Regions from separate parts of the Homo sapiens genome. Here all the other regions are linked to region 4. The links are contacts of gene promoters, found by promoter capture Hi-C in blood cells and fetal thymus (Javierre and others, 2016). All regions are on one chromosome and are shown on one strand. The core of a region is centred on a gene start or on the middle of the fragment in contact, and the rest is flanking DNA. Distances in the headings are between cores, read along the strand shown. Region 1 overlaps MSL3B (MSL complex subunit 3B). Region 2 overlaps TRPM8 (transient receptor potential cation channel subfamily M member 8). Region 3 has its middle 19 kb from the start of MSL3B. Region 4 holds the start of ARL4C (ARF like GTPase 4C). Region 5 overlaps TRPM8 (transient receptor potential cation channel subfamily M member 8).

Region 1 (2,700 bases), core at 120-2,619, 630 kb after region 4:
AAAAGTAGGTATTCCTCATTGTGGCACCTGACAGCCCCAAAGGTAGAAATTAAAACTAACCCACATATTTATTGCACACTATGCTGACATTTTAATGTAAATTTTAGACCACATAAGATTTAGTCTTTAGAGTCAGAAATTCCTTAGGTGCTAGCCCACAAATTGCTACATAAGAGAAAACAGAAAAGATTTCACTTTCTGTGATCCTAATAGAAAGCCCACAGAGACATATCTTCCCACTGTGGCTTCAGTAGCATCAAATAGGAAAGTGATAATACTGTGAGAGAATGACGTGCCACCCACAATATCTGAAGTACAAAGACAAAGCTGGATGTATTTTTGGTTAGTTAATTTGAGCAAAACCCGTAAGTGTCCAGATGGATTCTTCCTAGATTATCATAATTCTCTTGCATGTCCATGAAAGGATAAGGTATGTCACAAGGCTAAGAGCTTGAACTGTGCTAGTCCAAATTGAGACGTGCTCTAAGTGTGAGGTTAGAGCACTGGAGTTTGAAGACTTAATATGTAAAAATAAATGTAACATATCTCATTAATAATTTTCAGCATTGGTTAAATGTCGAACTGACAATATTTTAGATACATTGGGTTAAATAAAATGTTTTTAAAATAACTTCACCTATTTCTTTTTACTTTTAAAAAATGTTAATATTTTAAAAACTTAAAATGACCAATGTGTCTCACATATTTTTAATGGACAGTGATGCTCTTAAAAGTATTACCTCTATGGCATGGCATATGTCAAAAACTCATGGTCTTTTTTAGCTATTCTTTGATCCAATATCCAAGGCTTAGCTTCATGTATCCAAGCAGTTACAGGCCTCTACTAAATTAGTCAAAGCATCTTTTGGTCTTGTACTAGGATTACCTTTAAATCTGATGTTAATATATGCAGCAAATCCCTACTGTTAATAGAAACCACCCAACATTTTTTCTGCCGTTTACTAATTTGATTGTTACTCTTTCCCTCACATATTACCATATTCCTATGTACACACTCAGTCTGGCAGCCTTCTGTTACTCTTATCCAATGAAGGAGAAGCTCGTACTTGTGTTCCATTCACTCAAAAAGTATCTATGCCCATAACCAATCTTTGGATAGTCTAAAACAAAATCCCAATTTAATGGTTTTTTCATGTTATCTTAAAAATGAATAAAAAGAGATGATACCAGGAAGTCTAGGTGATAATTACTTTTCTTGCCCAATACTAGGCTTTACTAGAGAGCTGAATTTTATAATACAACTCTCCTAAGCTTTTGCTTGTGCAGCCAATTTGAAGGACAATTTGAAGTGAACTTAAGGATGAGTTGCCTTCCCAACTCTTAGAAAGACCCAAATAATAGCCATTTCTATAATTAAGGCTACTAATGTGAATTTAATCAAGCTACATAAAGCCAGTTTAAATTCCTCAGCCCAAATAGTAGCTATGCATAATAGAATAAGCTTGGATTTTTTTTTTTTTTTTTTTTTTGAGAAGGAGTCTCGCTCTGTTGCCCAGGGTGGAGTGCAGTGGTGCCATCTCCGCTCACTACAAGCTCTGCCTCCTGGGTTCACGCCATTCTCCTGCCTCAGCCTCCCCAGTAGCTGGGACTACAGGCGCCCGCCACCGCGCCCAGCTAATTTTTTGTATTTTTAGTAGAGACGGGGTTTCACCATGCTAGCCAGGATGGTCTCGATCTCCTGACTTCGTGATTCACCCACCTCAGCCTCCCGAAGTGCTGGGATTACAGGCATGAGCCACCGCGCCCGGCCAGCTTGGATTTTATTTGGGCCAATTAAGAGAGAGTCTAGGCTGTCGCTAATAATACTTCCTGCTATCTGGAGTAATTCTATAATACTTCCTGTATAATACTTCCTGTATCTAGAGTAATTCTATGTGACTTGGTCCAATCTATGTCAAAGCTAAAAGAAAGGCAAGGTGAGCTTCTCACCAAGTTGTTGAAAATTCTTTTCTTAGGAAATCTCCCAATCCCTTCTTAAAATAATATTCCTAAGTTTGTTTGTTTTGTTTGTTTGTTTGTTTTGAGATGGAGTCTCACACTGTTGCCCAGGTTGGAGTGCAGTAGTGTGTTCTCAGCTCACTGCAACCTCCATCTCCCAGGTTCAAGCAATTCTCCTGCCTCAGCCTTCCCCAATGGCTGGGATTACAGGTGTGTGCCACCACGCCCAGCTAATTTTTTTGTATTTCTAATGGAGATGGGGTCACCATGTTGGCCTGGCTGGTCTTGAACTCCTGACCTCAAATGATCCACCCATCTTGGCCTCCCAAAGTGTTGGAATTACAGGCGTGAGCCACCACGCCCAGCCTATATGTTTTTTTTTTTTAATCTCACAATTGTTTGAGATCTGTTGTTAGAGTCTTAAATGATTTTGTGCAGCTACTGTCCTGACAGATGATTCAATGAAATATTCAAAGATGAAATAAGAATGAAATTCTGCTGATCAATGTTCAAACTGAAAATACGATCTTTGCAAATGAAACCTCCTCTTCAGAAAGAATCATTTATAGTGGTAAAGAGGTGAATAATTTTTTTGATTCTTTCTTGTAACTTTGGCTGAATGAGGACAAAAAGAGGAGACTGAGAAGAAAAAGGGTTCCATGGACCTCTCCAAGGACTCAGCAGTCTCACATGAGTACCCACACTTACACAGACTGCACCAGCCCCTGACACCACTGAAAC
Region 2 (2,700 bases), core at 88-2,587, 540 kb after region 4:
AGGCATTAGGTTCTCATAAGGAGCACACAACCTAGATCCCTCACATGCACAGTCCACAACAGGGTTCACGCTCCTATAGGAATCGAATACCGCCACTGATCGGACTGAAGGCGGAGCTCAGGCGGTAATGTGAGCAATGGGGAGCTGGTGTAAATACAGATGAAGTTTCACTTGCTCGCCCACTGCTCACTTCCTGTTGTTCCTAACAGGCCATGGACCGGCACCCCTGCTCTAAGACGTTCACTGGGGAGCGTCAGTCAAGTTGTTCTATTTGTCTCTTATGTATCTCACTACGGACGGTTCTCTAATCAGAATTTGGCTAGGCAGGTGGGGGCAGGGAGCAAAAAGAGTGCTGCCGTCTGGATTTATAGTTGAGCTACTTTCAATCATCTAGCATATATTTTTCCCATACTTCTGCCCACACACATCCAGAAGGAGATCTGCATCTCTACACCCAGATGGAGAATCACCCTCACTTTGCAGCTGAAGGCAATGTGGAGTTGATGTTATTTTATACCATTTATTTTTATTATCTCTTCACAACAAACCTACTAAGTCAATGTTATGATTCCATGCTGCAAACAAGGAAATTAAGCCTCAGCAATCCTGATATTCTGGAACAGAACAATCCTTTAAGAGATTTGGTATTGAAGACCTTGTTGGAAATGGATCAGACATTGCCCAGACCACTGTCCAGACCCAACACTGGAATAACCCAGGAGAGCTTCGTGCTTACCTCCCATCGGCGGTCATTGGTGAAAATCTCATCATTGGCTAAGTCCAGCTGGTTCCACTCCAGCAGAAGCTTCAGCTGCCCATTCCAGTTATCCTTGTCTTGCTCACTGGTGCTGAAGGCTGTGAGAGGGCAGGAAAAGACTCAACTCACCAAAGGCTCAGAAATAAGAGTGAGAACCATTCAGTGTGGCCAATTATCAGAGCTGTTTATCACAGGTAATGCTGATCATGTTCTCTTACATTCAGACACTCAAACTGTCATTCACTCTATCTTCACTCATTCTTAACCACATTCTGTATGTCCCAAAGTTTATAATGGGGATCAACTCAGGCTACAGTAATGTTTTTCCATTGCATATCCTAGCAGTGTAATAATGGTATAGTAAAGGTTTTTTCCATAGATTCAGATTCCATAGTATTATATTTCAAGGCCATATCTGACTTATGCTACATCTAAATCTACGAAACAATAAGCCACCTTACAACAATGTCATTCTTGTCTTTTCCAGAGCTAATATTTTATGCATCTATGTATCTGTGCAGATATAATTCCATTTTAATAAATACCTTTATAACCAAATGTCTGGCAAGTACAATAAGAATGATTCTAATAAATTGCTGATGCTTTAAATGCACTTCCAACGTGCCTGGCTCTACTCTAGCTAATTTATATTTATCAGTCACACAATTCAAGTCTAGACAACCAAGGATCTATTTACTATGGGTAACATCCACTTTACGGAATTCTAAAGCAGCAAAGATCATGAATGAGAATTTTTTAACCTGAGGTTCATTCATAAGCCTCAGGAAATTTGTAAACCCCTGAAATTAAATGCAAAGTTACTTAGGTGTGAAGTATGTGTGCATATGTGTACAAATATGTAGAATGCTAGGACAAAGATCCATAGTTTTGCCATATTCTCAAAGGAATCTGAGGCCCAATAAAAAAATTATTTTCAACCACTGTTAGAAATAGCTCTTTGGAGACTACTGCGATTTTGTTTGACCAGTATTTTAATGACATAAAAATTATTATTCTATCAAATACATACAACCAAGGAGATTCACCTCACCAGGACAAGCGTAGTTATTCTAGCTTCCAATCTAGGATCATCAAAATTAAGTACAAGCTTGCCTTTCAATAAAGCTGTTTTATAAAAGAAATGTAAGTCATGAAAAGCCACAGAAGGCAACACAAAGCTGACACTTCAAAAGGAGCTATTTTTACTCACCTTTGTATAGAGCGTAGGAGATGGCATTGCTCACAATTTCATCCCCAGCTTCTTCCATTTTAATAACTGTTAATAGGTGAGAACATTCGAGAATTTCTTTGAGCTGGCGAAATTAAAGAACAAAGTGTCAGCCAACAGATTTTAGGCATGAGGAGCATAAACTTCTTTCTTTTTGTGAGAGATCTTTTTAAAAAGACCACCTGTAGTGGAGTTCCGGATCAGCTTCTCATTTCTGAATTGCAATGAGTCCTTGACTACAGTGAGAATAAAGTATTGGTTATACACGTATCAAAAAGCCCCTATCAAAAAGCTGAGAGCCTCATTTGACTAGAGATGTGTGCATCTGCGTGCAGGTGCTGTGTGTGTGTGTGTGTGTCACAAAGCCTGGCACATGGCAGATGCTCAGTTATTAAATGACCAAGTAAATAAAGAAGGGACAATAGAAGACTGTAGACACCATCCAAGTGTGCCCATAAAGATTTAAACAATAGGAAATAAAAGCTCAAATGCAAACAAGAAAGAAGGCTTGGAAACTGGAGAAACAGATAAAGAATTTTCTATATTGTCCTTTGTTATTTTTCTGTAATGTTTAATTTTAAGACGTTTTAAAAAGTAAATAACCCTGTAATTTCAAGGTTACAAGCACTGGCGAGCCCAGCTGGAGCTTGGTGAGAAGGGCCCCTTCTAGCCAAGGGAGCAAGTCTGGTTTCCATTAGACTGAGTTTGAGGCAAT
Region 3 (2,700 bases), core at 124-2,623, 610 kb after region 4:
GGATTGCTTCAGCTGAAGGGACCCCTGGCCTAAGGTGTGCCCCTTCACAGAGTGTCCCACAGCCAGTAACTGACCAATGGAAGCATCGAAAGGCCTGACCTTCTTGGTCCAATGCAAGGAGCTCTGAAGAACCATCTAACCTCAGAGTTCCCTGTTGTCCGAGGCTGTCACTGGGTCTCCATCCCAGCCTGACTTCTCCTTCTGCCTACTCCCATTTTCATCCTCTTCCTCAAGGTTTGATCCCAAGTGCATCCCCAAATAAACATCCTGTGTTAAACTCCAGCTCAGAGTTCTCTTAATGTTTTGTGTAGTCCTCTTTAATGATAAATCTTGCATTAAAGAGGGAAAATATTTAACCAAAATATTTATTGTCACCACTATAGTCACTATCATTTCTGTGGTAGTGCTGGCCATTGTTCTGTCCCCCTCAATAAGCAGGAAGAAGGAATGATCATCCATTCAGGCTTCCCTATAATCATAAACTCTGAGTGCCATTCAAAGATGCAGCCACACAACAATGGTGTTCTCAACTTTCTCATCCACATTTCCCAATATAATGGAATTGTAGATAAGATTAATGTGGGTAAATAGTGGTGAGGGTTGTTGCAGGTGGTCAAGCCAAGTCACTGGCTCCCCTCTGAACCTGCAACAGGTCTAATTTCTTGCATTAATGATGAAATGAGGTAATCCGTTACCTGCTCTTCCCAGCAATAGGATATATAAGCCCAACTTTCAGGATGTTAGTTTCACATCAAGTGACCCTCCCTGTGACTCTGATAGACATGCTCCCTTCCCTAAGACTTGTATTCAATTAAAGAACAAGTACACCTTGAAATGAATGTATAACCCCTGACATAAATGGGACTTAGAGCTGAACTTCAACTCTTCAACAGATAAGCTGCCTTAGGGAATTCAACCCAAGAAAACAGAGTGGTATAGAAGGTTCCTTGCCATAATCCTCAAACTTATCAGAAAGGTTAGTAAAAGCCTCACAGTACGGTAAAGAGGAAAGCCACAACCCTAAAGGCAATATTCCAAGTTCAGGGCCATTTCAAAGAAGTGTGATATTATTAGACCCTTCTGAGGCAGAATGGCCCATTAGGCTCCATCCACAACATGTTAGGTATGCTGTGAAAGCCAAGAGACAACTAAGCAGGCACCTGGAAAATGCAAAAGCATTGCCCTCCAAAAAGAAGAGAAGGAAAGTCATTTAGCTAAAGTCTGTTCCAGAGCCATTTAGAAATCTCTGCCCTCATATTTGCATTAATACTTATTTGGTTTTCATTTGGCCTTTTAAAACTATAAAGCTATTATAGATCCAAGAGTCATGCTCTGAAATAAGTTAATAGTTTTCTTCCAGACCTCAGAGAAACTATGAGATTTGGGATGTTAATTGAAAAATGTTGCTGTTGTCACCCAGCTTTCTTTCCTACCAACATATCCAGGAGGACATCTGTCACTCCTACTCACATCATTGCAATGTGATTTGGAAGTAGCCCTTCTCTTTTGTCTTTTCTTCAGCCTCATGCCAGCATGGTTAGGAAATCAACATTCCTTAGCACCCATTATACTTATGCCAAGCATGGCACCAGGTGTTTTTACCTAGTTTATTTTATTTAATCTCCATAACTCTATGAGGGAGGTATTATCCCCATTTTACAGATGACATAACTGAGGCTCAGATATATTGCCCAATGTAGACTTGGTTACAAATTGCAGAATTGGGACTTCAACACAGGTTGTCTCCCTCCTTTCATGGAGGGATACAATGTATGTAAACTACTAAGCACAGTCCCTGCTCAGTAAATGGGGTTTTTGTTATTACCTATTTTATTACCTGTTGCAGGAAGTGGATTACCCTGGGATTCAGCTCCCAATTCCATTACATTACCCAAGACAGAGTTGTTCAATCAAGGGCATCCATAAGGCCCATTAATACCCTGAGAAGAGCATGTAACAGTCAAAGGACAAAAAAGGATATTTTACAGAAAAAAGAAAAATAATGGCCATTAAACCTATAAAAATATGCTCAAGATGATAAGGAAAACTAAAATGATATAAGAGTTTACGTATCAGATTAGCAAAGATCAAAGATTGCGATAACATGAGAACATTGCTTACAGGACTGTAAATTGGTTTAACAACCTTTGTTAAACTCCATCTCGGAGTTCTCTTAATGTTTTGTGTAGTCCTCTTTAATGATAAATCTTGCATTAAACAGGGGAAAGATTTAACCAAATAAAAGTATATTTATTGTCACTACTATTGTCACTATCCTTTCTGTGGTAGTGCTGGCCATTGTTCTGTCCCCCTCAATAAGCAGGAAGAAGGAATGATCATCCATTCAGGTTCCCCTATAATCATAAGCGCTGAGTGCCCTTCAAAGATGAAGCTGCACAACAATGATGTTCCCAAACTTCAGGTTCCCAAATCCTCAAGGTGAGCAGTTTGGCAACGTCTATCAAATACTGTGGGGATATACCCTTTAACGCCACAATTTTCTATCTCTGAATTAATCCTACTCACCTATTCCTGTTGTGTGCATACACAGGGACACTGAGGACACACATTTTTCTTCAACTGTCAGAGATGAGAGATGAGAACCATCTACTCATCAGTAAGGAGTCAGTTAAAGAAAGAGGGCCCGGGTGCGGTGGCTCACGCCTGTAATCCCAGCACTTTGGGAAGCCGAGGTGGGCG
Region 4 (2,700 bases), core at 120-2,619:
GTGAGGTCTTCTCACATGCTTTGGTACCAACGATATCATATGTCTTTTCGTGGTTTGTGAACAGAAGGTGATAAAGTATTTCTCTAAAATTCTAGCTTTTATTCATAAATTCTTAGCATTTTCATTTTCTTCTCCCTTGACCCCGTTTCCGTCGTTTCTGTCTCATAAGCTAGAGCTGGGAAGATGCGGTCGCCCATGCTGCGGCCTGCTGTCTCCTGCGGAGCAGCTCTCCCCAGATCTGTGTGTTTGCCATAATATACTCTCACTTTTCTCCGCACCCAGAGAGGATATACATTTGTTACATGTTTACAAACCAGAATAAAACCATTGAACTGAGGTGACAGGAGGTGGAACCCGTGGAATATCAGTGTTTGTAACCCACTGCGCCACCAGCTCCAAGCTGTAGACACATTTTCTTTCAGCCCCCGGGGCTGGTGTTGCCATTTCTGCGGAGTAGTTCACCTGCGGGCAGGTGGTTCTCAGTTCCCAAAGTCGGGTGGCAAGGGGTGCTCTCCCGAAATGCTGACGCTTCCCCTGGGATGTCAGCAGAGTCGATGCGGACGAAATGAGGTAGCCCAGGCGTGTCTGGGAGGGTGAGCTGTCCGAGCTACTTGGGGCAGGTAGGTCTTCTAATCCCCCATCGCGGCCTAGGTCCGACCCTGCCCCAACCGCCGCCACCGGGCAAGAAAGGCTGGGCCTCCAGGGTGCCCTGGGCACAGGCCTGGGCTCCGGAGGGCGGCGCTGGCCGGGTGCAGCCCCCTGGAACCCAGGCAGGAGGCGAGCCTGGGCGTCACTGGGGGCCGGGGCCGGCGACAGCCGCGGCGCGAGGGTGGGAGGGGACGCGCCCGGCTGGATCCAGAGCGCAGGCTGGCAGCTCACCGAGGCCAGCCCCGTCCCGTCCCTTCTGGGGTTTGGAGGCCCCAGCCTCGCCGCCCTCACTCCCCAGAGCGGCGCTCTCCCAGTCACCCTGGGGGCCGCCCTGCCCCGCCTCGCGCCCACAGAGCTGGGACCCCGGGACCCACTCCCTCAGGCAGGCTGCGTCGCCCACGGCTGCGGCCCGGAGGGGCAGGGGGCGGGCTAGGACCCGGGCGGGGATTCCGGGAGCCGAGAGCTATTTTTGCAAACGCGTCAGCCGCTGGGGAGGAAGAGCCGGCTCCGCGCCCATTGTGTCTGCGCGGCGCGGCGCGGGAGGGGCCGGGGGGCGGCGGGGGGCGGCGGGGACGCAGCGAAGCGCGCGAAAACGGCCGGCTGGGCGGGGAGGACCGCGCCTGACCCCCGGCGGCGGGCGGGGCGGGGCCCGGGGCGGGTCCGGGGGCGGGTCCGGGGCGGGGCGCGAGGGGGCGGGTCCGGGAGCTCTCCGGCCGCTGCAGGCTGGCGGCTGCTGCGGCGGCGCGGGGACTGTGAGGCTGCCGAGCGGACAGCGACTCCCGGGGAAGCCCGCGCTCCGGGAGCGGGAGCGGGAGCAGGAGCAGGAGCAGCGCCGTCCCAGGCCAGAGGCGAGCGCCGGGCGCCGGGAGAGCGGAGAGCCCGGGCAGCTGCCGGAGCGCGGGGGCGCGGCCCGAGGAAACCACAGAGCGAGCCCAGGCCTGGGGAGGGCGCCGAACATCTGAGGCGGCTTCGCGGGAGACAAAGCCGCGCGTAGAGACGCGATGCCCGCCGATCGCGAGCCCGGCCGGCGAGGGCGCGGGGACTGCGGCGTCTGAGCGCGCCAAGCCGTGCGCCCGCGGGGACGCCGAGCCCCGGGGCCGGTGCGGGCGGCGGCGGGCGGGGCCCAGGTGCGCCCGGCCGCGTCGGGCCCGTGACTGCTCGGGGGGCGGCGCCCTCCCGCCGCAGCCGCAGTGGCTGGCGCCGCAGCCAGGAGCCATGGGCAACATCTCCTCTAACATCTCGGCCTTCCAGTCCCTGCATATCGTCATGTTGGGCTTGGACTCGGCCGGCAAGACCACGGTGCTCTACCGGCTCAAGTTCAACGAGTTCGTGAACACGGTGCCCACCATCGGCTTCAACACCGAGAAGATCAAGCTGAGCAACGGCACGGCCAAGGGCATCAGCTGCCACTTCTGGGACGTGGGCGGCCAGGAGAAGCTGCGGCCGCTGTGGAAGTCCTACAGCCGCTGCACGGACGGCATCATCTACGTGGTGGACTCGGTGGACGTGGACCGGCTGGAGGAGGCCAAGACGGAGCTGCACAAGGTGACCAAGTTCGCCGAGAACCAGGGCACGCCGCTGCTGGTCATCGCCAACAAGCAGGACCTGCCCAAGTCGCTGCCGGTGGCAGAGATTGAGAAGCAGCTGGCGCTGCACGAGCTTATCCCGGCCACCACCTATCACGTCCAGCCGGCGTGCGCCATCATCGGCGAGGGCCTCACCGAGGGCATGGACAAGCTCTATGAGATGATCCTGAAACGCAGGAAGTCCCTCAAGCAGAAGAAGAAGCGGTAATGCGCCCGGAGCGACCGGGGAGCGAGCGAGTGCGTCAAGAAAGAATGAATGGATGGATGGATGGTTGGATGGATGGATGGATGGATGAGCGAGAACCCGCGCCCGCGAACAAAGAGCGAACCAAAGCGATGCTTCGAATTTTTAAAACGGAATCTCTGCACCCAAATGCAGGACTGGTGACTTAAGGAGCTGCGAAGTCTGATTTACCGGCCTACTCTCGACCTGCCCCCCACCCCCAGCTCAGGGGACCTTTTGTCT
Region 5 (2,700 bases), core at 82-2,581, 570 kb after region 4:
AGGGTGGGTTGGGCTTAGCACTAGGGTGGCAACCCTGAGAACTCTCAGGGGAGACTTTGGCAGCTTAGGTCATCTAGTGTGGCAAGTAACAGCAAAACCAGGGTATCAATAAAATTAATCATCACTTCATTTGATGCCCTTGTCTGATGGGTAACTTAGATTACATGGAGTGATCCCACTACCTGTGGAGAGAGAGAAATAATAAACATGGGGGATTCAAAGATTATAGAATCCTGCATCCTTGCATACCTTCTGAGATGGGAACTGGAAGACCCTGAGGTGTTCCTGTGCTCCGCTTGTGTTGCTGAGGGCTGCGGCTGCCCACCACATCTCCCTTCATTTTGACCCAGACTTGAGCTGTAATCAAGCACTGTAAGGTGAACAGCCACAGGTTTCCCTAACCTGCATCTACTTCCCCTTCCACTAGTAAGTGCGCCCTGATTTTCCTTGAGGAATCATGCCTTTCTGCATTGAGTTCACCTGGACACATCTCCCAAGCCTTGCCAATCAACATATTCCACTGTCCCTCAACTTCCATCCTCCAGCCCCAGGGATTAGTTTAGAGATAGGCACATGCTCCAAGCAAGACCATTAAGAGCCATAAACATCAGCCCAGGACTTTTGATGGAATTGCTAGGAGCAAGGCCCTCTTTGCTCTAACTGGCAAATGGAAAGCTGATAACGCACAACCAACAATGACCATTTTGCCTCCAATAGTGAAGAGCCCATCCATCAGAGAAGGGCAGGAACAACAGGTGGAAAGAGACAGAGTCTCGGCGACGTTGTTGAAGCCCTGGATCTGGCTGTGCTTTTCAGCCACAAGATCCCATTATCACACCCCACAGAATCCCTGCTCCAGCTTCCACTTATGCCAGTTAGATTGAACATATGTAACTGAGAACGTGTTGAGGAATTTGTTCTGCCCAAAGCAACGCCATTCTTAGAAAGGGAGGCAACTGACGGTATAGAGAAGGCACAGCCTTGGAATCAGAAAGCCCGGGCTCAAGTCTCTCATCCATCTTCCACTGCACATGTGACCATGGGTAAAATACTGAACTTCTCTGGGCCTCACTTGCCTTAAAGGTAGCAACAGCTTCCTTGCAAGGAGGTTGATAATATTAGCAATCCAGTATGTAAGTCCCATTCATGAAACATACAGGGGATAAATAGTGGTCTTACAAAGCTTACACTTTGTCAGAATGACTCATGATGCGTATGTTTTTACCAGTGACAAGGCAGAGATCTCTTAGTTTTTCTGGTGTTCATTTTCTAATTCACATGAAGTAAGAATTATGCTCTGAAGCATTATGGTAGGTATTTTATATGCTGCGTCTTGAATACCACAACCCATGAGGTATACTTTTGCTAGATTTTTAGGATAAGAGAATTAGCTTTAGAAAAGAGAATAATTGGCTCAAGGCCACACAGTGAGGAGTCAGCCAAGTCAAGGTTGAAACCAAAGCTGGTTCTAAAGCTTTTTTCCTTATTTCTATATCCTTCCTCTGTTCATTGACCCTGTTCAACAGAGAGTCTTTTCATTATAAACTACAGCAGCAACTTGCAATTAATAGCTAGACTCTTTCTTGCATTGCCAGCCAACAGAAAGGAAGGGGCAGAGAGGAATAAGGAGAGTGGGAGGTAGGACGAAAATTGTTTAATTAGATTCAAATGCATCTTCTACACAAAGGGTGAGCACTAGTCGACCCATTCACTCACTCACTTGCTCATCAACAGTTATTGAAGAACTCCTGTAGGCTGAGCTGGTGAAGCCTGCTTTTGTAACCCAGCCTTAATGTTCCAAAACACATGAGACTTAGAGCAGATGAACACTCAATTAGAAGGAAAGACCTAAAGTCAACAGCAGGGAAGAAAAGCCTGACGGAGGAGCCAGTAAGATGGACATATGTACACATGCATGGTATTGCCAGCCAACAGCTGTAAAACAACTTTCATTACCAAGGTCACTCAGGTGGGTTCCCAATCTCATGGGAATACTGAAGAGAGTGACAGCCTCCCTCAACGACTTTTCCAACTATGGCCAAAGCTGAAAATACCAAACAAAATTGTATAGCTCTGAGTAACAACTATAAGCTCCTTGCCAGATCCTTCCTGCGCAAACAGTGTTTCTGAGAATTATAAGACGAAGACATCTTTAATAATGAACTAGGGAGCATTTGTTTGTTGTAAGGGTGGCTGATAATTTTTTTGAACTTGGAAAGCAAAACTGGAGGGAAAATAGTAGCTTACGTGGCCTTGGAATCTTTGGTAAAGAAGACACATTCTCGTTTCTTAAAATTTGCTTGAATAAAATTCACCAAGTCCTTTGGAGAGAGAACATTGAATAACACATTACTAATTTATTCTCACCCCTTGCTGATATTGATGAATACTAAATATGATGTAACCCCACTTCAAAGGCTTTAAGAATTTACCACATATTCATAGCATCCAGCATTTGTTCATGCCTTTAGAGTATACAAAATTTTTTTTAAAGATGCAAACTTTAAAATTTTTATAACTAAATGGAAAATTTTTCTAGAAGTGATTTGGACTTATCTTATTTATAAACAGTATTATATACATACAAATTATGTTTTTCCACCTCTAAGGCTACCAGGGAGAATATAGGCATTGGATGATAGTTTTTCATAAATAATATATCAATGCAGATTCCCATTCCTCTTATCCTTGCTGTTTAAA

The links. Contacts are between HindIII fragments. The CHiCAGO score rates a contact against its expected background, and 5 or more counts as called.
Region 1: a fragment that was not itself captured here is called in contact with the fragment with the promoter of ARL4C in region 4 in 8 of 17 cell types (naive CD8 T cells, total CD4 T cells, total CD8 T cells and 5 more); the score reaches 9.7 in naive CD8 T cells.
Region 2: a fragment that was not itself captured here is called in contact with the fragment with the promoter of ARL4C in region 4 in 6 of 17 cell types (total CD4 T cells, total CD8 T cells, non-activated CD4 T cells and 3 more); the score reaches 10.1 in total CD4 T cells.
Region 3: a fragment that was not itself captured here is called in contact with the fragment with the promoter of ARL4C in region 4 in 1 of 17 cell types (total CD4 T cells); the score reaches 5.0 in total CD4 T cells.
Region 5: a contact is called between a fragment that was not itself captured here and the fragment with the promoter of ARL4C in region 4, in 2 of 17 cell types (total CD4 T cells and naive B cells). The highest score is 6.0, in total CD4 T cells.

The regions. Positions count from the first base shown.
Region 1 is chr2:233,862,594-233,865,293 of GRCh38, reverse strand. It overlaps MSL3B (MSL complex subunit 3B), which reads left to right. Exons shown (of 2, transcript NM_001425333.1): 2 at 1-631. Among named protein-coding and RNA genes, the nearest start is that of MSL3B, 4.4 kb to the left of the region's middle. The HindIII fragment of the contact is 190 bases long and covers 1,275-1,464 here.
Region 2 is chr2:233,953,287-233,955,986 of GRCh38, reverse strand. It overlaps TRPM8 (transient receptor potential cation channel subfamily M member 8), which reads right to left. Exons shown (of 26, transcript NM_024080.5): 10 at 1,968-2,070; 11 at 737-855. Among named protein-coding and RNA genes, the nearest start is that of TRPM8, 37 kb to the right of the region's middle. The HindIII fragment of the contact is 1,060 bases long and covers 808-1,867 here.
Region 3 is chr2:233,885,961-233,888,660 of GRCh38, reverse strand. No RefSeq gene overlaps it. Among named protein-coding and RNA genes, the nearest start is that of MSL3B, 19 kb to the right of the region's middle. The HindIII fragment of the contact is 4,896 bases long and covers 1-2,700 here.
Region 4 is chr2:234,495,750-234,498,449 of GRCh38, reverse strand. It overlaps ARL4C (ARF like GTPase 4C), which reads left to right and starts at 1,369. Exons shown (of 2, transcript NM_001282431.2): 1 at 1,369-2,438; 2 at 2,614-2,700. The coding sequence starts at 1,864. The coding sequence ends at 2,644. RefSeq lists an enhancer at 334-1,107 and silencers at 1,292-1,581, 1,692-1,791. The HindIII fragment of the contact is 13,705 bases long and covers 1-2,700 here.
Region 5 is chr2:233,930,289-233,932,988 of GRCh38, reverse strand. It overlaps TRPM8 (transient receptor potential cation channel subfamily M member 8), which reads right to left. Exons shown (of 26, transcript NM_024080.5): 3 at 2,248-2,321. Among named protein-coding and RNA genes, the nearest start is that of TRPM8, 14 kb to the right of the region's middle. The HindIII fragment of the contact is 291 bases long and covers 1,186-1,476 here.